Regions from separate parts of the Homo sapiens genome. Here region 1 is linked to region 2. Evidence: promoter capture Hi-C in 16 types of primary human blood cells and fetal thymus (Javierre and others, 2016). All regions are on one chromosome and are shown on one strand. The core of a region is centred on a gene start or on the middle of the fragment in contact, and the rest is flanking DNA. Distances in the headings are between cores, read along the strand shown. Region 1 overlaps EIF2S1 (eukaryotic translation initiation factor 2 subunit alpha). Region 2 holds the start of ERH (ERH mRNA splicing and mitosis factor).

Region 1 (2,700 bases), core at 129-2,628, 2.0 Mb after region 2:
GTCTTGTTTTGCTATAACTGATATGAAAAATGGTTTGGGTGGGGCATGGTGGCTCACACTCTTACAGAGGCAGAGGCAGGAGGATAGCTTGAGCCCAGGATTTCGAGACCTGCCCAGGCAATATAACACCATTTGCCAAAAAAAAAAAAAAAAAAAGAAAAAAGTGGTTTGAATATTCATATTTCTTCCTGGCCATTACTGATTTTCAATTAATTTATGCATAAATGAGACCCAAACTATCACTAATTTTCAGCTATATGAATTGATAGCCACTTGACATCAGTGAAAGGTACAGTAGGGAGTAGATGAAATTGTATTTTTAATGAAAAGGCTTTGATGGGAGATTCAAGATTTTTGGTTTTTTTTTTTTTTTTTGAGACAGGGTCTTGCCCTGTCACCCAGGCTCGAGTGCACTGGAGTGATCACAGCTCACTGGCCTCAAGTGATCCTCCTGCCTTGGCCCCTTAAGTGCCAGGGTTACAGGCATGAGCTACCATGCCTGGCAGAAATTCAAGATTTGGATAAACTTACTTCTTTGCCAAGCCTGTTCTTCAAGTTATTCAGAACTGGGTGTATACCTTGTCCTCATATGTATCTTGTCCCTGCTGTCTTTTAGGTTAGCAAGGTGTATGAATACTTTTAAGTTTTGTTTGTTCTTTTCCTCGTGGTATCAGTGAAATACTGATCTATTCTCTGGCTAGGGTCAATTTACAAAATTGCCATGGAACTGAGCAAAAGGCCCACGTGGGATAAAAATCACTCACCATCGACGCCACCAGTATTTTTCAAGTTATGGCTTTTGAAGTATAACAAATTTCAGTAAACAAAATCAAAAGAAAAAATTCCTCTGCGTACAACAAAGAAGCACCTGTTATATTTTGAATGCATTCTTCATGTTGCCAGCTTTCTAAACTTGTTTTTTTGATGCCTCAACAGACAGAAGTGAAAATTATATGCCACTCTTAAGTACATCCAGGTTCTCCTCTACATATTCCCAATATGGAATGCTGGCTAGCAATCATGGCACTCTCTCAGAAACCAGCCACTGGAAGTTAAAACTTCTGGATTTCAAAAGCTAGTACAGGCTGCTAAATTTAACAAAGGAACAAACCTTCATAAATGGTACAAACTACCTGCCCAACACACTCTTCTATTTTCCAGACCCTTTAATATTGAGTAGTCTAGTCTTGGATTGACTATGGTGGGTTAGGTCTAATCTAAGTATCTTAATAGCTATCTAGGGATAATGAATAAAATTAAATACAACTGGTACCTCAAGTATCATAAGAGAATAAATTTATGAAGACAAGCAGACCAAAGCAACTCAAGATTTTCTACACCTGACTACTGTAGCTGTAACTTCAAATAATGTGTTACCTATGAAACTTATTATGTACGAATTAGTTCTTAAAGACAGAAATGATGGAAACATGTAAAAAAAAAAAAACAACAGTAAGTGTTCAAACAGATCCCTGTTTTGTTATAAAGAACTGGAGCTCTAGGTGGCATCTAGTGGATATTTTAATAGCAATAAAAATAAAAAATTGGGTGATATTCCAACTAAATAAAAAATGCAGCTGCTTTTTAAAATTTAAAAACATACTTTACCACCCTGAATTATAAACTCAAGGCAAGTAGCTTATTATTCCAATAAGGACGTGGTGTGATAAATTCTCTCACACAGGTTGTCATCAATCTCAAATAGATAAAAGGCACAGAACCGATCTAATTCTTTCAATGCATTTTAAGGCTTTGTCCCGCTAAGGGTCAACTTTCACTGTGGTTAAAGTTAAATTTATTTTCTCTAAAACTCTTCTTTTGAAAGGATCTGTTATAGAGATCCTTTATTCACCTGCTCCTACAGTTCCACATCAAGACTAAAATAAAGATAAAAGAATTAGGGTCTTAGTATTAAAATGCTTTTAACTGGTGACAAGAAGGAAGAAGCCTATAGTTAAATATCCCAGAAATTTATTTGATGTTTGCTTGAATACATTTTATATAGAAAGATTGGGATTGTTTGCCTTGGATGCCCCTGGCAAATCTCGTGAGGCATTGAACTAGAAAGGGGTGCCAATCTGGAGACATCAGAAATGGAAATCACAAGCCCAATTTTAGAACTATTCTTAAAGATTTGTCTCTAGTGAAATGAGGCCACTCCCTTAAAAATGCTCAAAGTGTTGGAGCTACTGTGTGACAACAGCTGACATTTAGGAGGGCATTTCATGTTCTGATCTGTTAGAACATTTAAATACTTAGAAATAAAAAATATTCAGCTTTGAAGTTTTCAATACTGGAAAACTTTCAAGTCTAGGATTTACAGCCAGGAAGCGCTGCTCTGTGTTCCTTAAATTGGACTCTGTTTCCCACAAAGTTAATCTTCAGCTTTGGCTTCCATTTCTTCTGCATCATCATCTCCATCCACTTCGGCATTTTCTCTTTCAAGCCTCTCCATCTGCCTCGCAAGTTCAGTCTCATCTGTATCTGTGACCACTTTGGGCTGTGGAAGCAGAGGTATAATTTCAAACTGAAGTAGTAAATACTATACAAATTTAATTTCAATACTATTACTGCCTAATGTTTTCTCTCTTTAACACTTTTCTAACAACTCTGTCATATCTGTTCACTTTTGAGTGACTTATCAGCAATAAATTCCATTACATAAATAAGAGGTGAAACTTATGAGAATAGTATAGAAAA
Region 2 (2,737 bases), core at 8-2,507:
GATTTAACTAGGGAAGCAGCTTCCCTTTGCAACTAAAACTACTATCTCACAGCCATCCTGACAGCTGACAGAAAATTGAGAATTTCTTACCTCTGAGAAATTAACAGCCAAGGGAATGATTCCGGCCACGTAACATCCCACCAACATAGCCAGAGACAGCAGGCTAATGGAGATGAAATCATCCATTCTGCCCTCCTTTATTCACCCACAACCACTAGACAACAAATTTCCAGTGGCTTTAAATGGTGCTTAGGTTCTTTAAACAGGTGTGGTGGTTCCAAGAGAGTGGGCTTTCCAGTTCTTTAGGCCTTCCCACCAGCAGATGTGTTCACGAGGCACCTTCCTCTTGAACGTACCCGGCAACAGACCCTTTTTGCTGATATTAGCACCAGAGAAAGCTTACAGCAATCTAAGGTCCCAGGCTCTGGGTTCTCAGATGCCAGTCATTAGATTCTCGTGGGTTAACAGAGATGGGAAAAGTCAATGGGGAAAATGTGCGAATGATCGATTTCTTCGATTGTCGGATTGAGGGTGGCACAATGTCTTAGGCGGCGGCGGGTAAGTGACTCAAGCGAACCTGTTCGTTCCCTAGGCGCCCCTGTCTCCAAGAGGCGGCCCCGAAGGTGATCCGCCCCCCAGAGCAGGAAACCAGCCCACCAGTCCCAGCAAACTCTCCTCCGAGCCTGGGATGAGGAAAGGAGTCCTGCAGGTCTCTAACGATGGGTCCTAGGGGTTCAGCAGCAAAGTTGACACAAAGCTGTCTCTGCCCTATACCCGGTGCTGCCCATGGTACTGCACTCGACCGGGCCTTGACCCGGAGTCGCCGATACTACAGCTGCCATGGCCGCCAAGTGGCATCTCTTCATTCCATCCACTTCCGGATTGTCTAACCACCCCCTCCTTTACAAAGGCACTTCCGGGTTACAACCGACCTCCGGCCCAGGATACTTACGTTGCCGCCATTTTTGAGTAGGGCTAATGAAAGATGTCTGATGTCACTGTCTATACCGGTGATCACTTGAGCCGTATGTTTAATAACGAAAGTACGGAAGACAGCGTCTTGAAAAAAAATAATTCTTCCTAAAGCTTGGAAACTTTCCCTTACCTTTTTGCCTTTATCGAAGATGGCTGAAACAGAGTCAGTAGCTGCTCTAGCTGCCGGAAGTGACTGTGCCTCTATGATCCAAAAGGCTCTTTTGCGTTGCACTTTCGACGACTTCCGGCGGCTCCTCTCGCGAGGATTGGCTGTTAGCGGCGTTGTAGTTAAGCTCGTGTAACGGCGGCGGTGTCGGCAGCTGCTGTAGCGAAGAGAGTTTGGCGCGATGGTGAGAAAGGCCTCCGCGGCTACCCGAGTCCGAGTCCCCGGCCTCCAGAGCGACCCCAGCCCCATACGTTTTCCCCTCCCCACGAGCCCCATGCAGCGCCGCGTGATGCTCCCCGCCACTCTAGTCGGTGGATTGACCCTTCTTCCCGCCGCAGGGACGCCAGGCCTGACTCTAGGCCTCGGAGCCCCGGTCCGCCCTGCGGTTGCGCGCCCGCCTGCTCGCTCGGGTCCGGCGTGCCTTGGGCCTGAGGATGAACTCTCTCCCGATTGTTACTCGGTAGAGGGAGACGTGGGGGAGGTGTTTTGTTTTTTGAGATAGAGAGTCTCACTCTATCGCCCAGGCTGGAGTGCAGTGGCGGGATCTCAGACCCCTGCAACCTCTGCCTCCTGGGTTGAAGCAATTCTCCTGTCTCAGCCTCCCTAGTAGCTGGGATTACAGGCGCCCGCCACCTCGCTCGGCTAATTTTTTTATTTTAGCAGAGACGGCGTTTCACCATGTTGGCCAGGCTGGTCTCGAACTCCTGACCTCAAGCAATCCACCCGCCTCGGCATCCCAAAGTGCTGGGATTACAGGCGTGAGCCACCGGGCCCTGCCGGATATGGTATTTTTCCCTCCAAATGCTCTAGCCTGCTGTAGGAACAATGGGCCAGGGTTGTCTAACTATTCTCGAAGCTGACAGATCCAGCTATACCCAGCATGTGGGCCAGGAGAGGACGTATTTGCTTTGCAGTGTTTTTTCAGCTTTCGTTTTCCTGTGCTCTGCCTTTTTTTTTTTTTTCCTGTTTTTGAGACCTCTAGGTATTGCGTGTGGCGCGTCCCTCAGCCCTCGATCCTGTACTTATCTGTATTTATATCCTCTTGGGGCTGGAGGCTGAAAAGTAGGCTCAGCTCAGAGACCAGCTCTATTAGAACCCAACCGGGATGATCAGTAAGCTCCAATTCGAAGAAAGTGACCAAAACTGGCTTGAGAGGTGGTATAATCTGTAAAGAATTTGAGCAGGAAAGCATTGCCATTTAAAAATGATAACCACTTGACCACAGTTTTTAAAATGTATCATGTTATGTTCTTAGTGATTTTTAATCCTTGTCTTTGGGCAGTAAGTACTGAAAATAGTAAACTTTGCCCGGTGTTCATTTTAAGACTAGATATAAAAAGCAACATGCTGTATAGCTTTTTCCATTCTTACCCTTTCAAATTAGTCCTTTAATTTGCATTAGAATTGGAATACAATTATTATAGTAGCAGTTGAGATAGCTAGTGTATAGGGCAACCTCTGTTGCAAGAATGCACGTGGTTTCTACAAAATTATTTTTTCTTAAATGACTCGTTGAAACTTTTTGAGTAGCTAGCTTACAAAGACTTCTGTATAACAAATAATCTAATATGATGCTTTCTGTGGCTTTTAAATCGA

Evidence for each region. The method cuts DNA at HindIII sites, captures the fragments that hold promoters and counts their contacts. A CHiCAGO score of 5 or more calls a contact.
Region 1: a contact is called between a fragment that was not itself captured here and the fragment with the promoter of ERH in region 2, in 1 of 17 cell types (neutrophils). The highest score is 6.6, in neutrophils.

Annotation. Positions count from the first base shown.
Region 1 is chr14:67,383,115-67,385,814 of GRCh38, reverse strand. EIF2S1 (eukaryotic translation initiation factor 2 subunit alpha) reads right to left here. Exons shown (of 8, transcript NM_004094.5): 8 at 1-2,500. The coding sequence ends at 2,375. It also overlaps a transcript of GPHN not described here. Among named protein-coding and RNA genes, the nearest start is that of EIF2S1, 24 kb to the right of the region's middle. The HindIII fragment of the contact is 7,072 bases long and covers 1-2,700 here.
Region 2 is chr14:69,396,819-69,399,555 of GRCh38, reverse strand. ERH (ERH mRNA splicing and mitosis factor) reads left to right here and starts at 1,257. Exons shown (of 4, transcript NM_004450.3): 1 at 1,257-1,325. The coding sequence starts at 1,323. It overlaps SLC39A9 (solute carrier family 39 member 9), which reads right to left and starts at 864. Exons shown (of 7, transcript NM_018375.5): 1 at 91-864. The coding sequence starts at 186. RefSeq lists enhancers at 572-911, 1-1,039, 1,241-1,748, 1,749-2,257 and a silencer at 1,008-1,248. The HindIII fragment of the contact is 2,829 bases long and covers 1,089-2,737 here.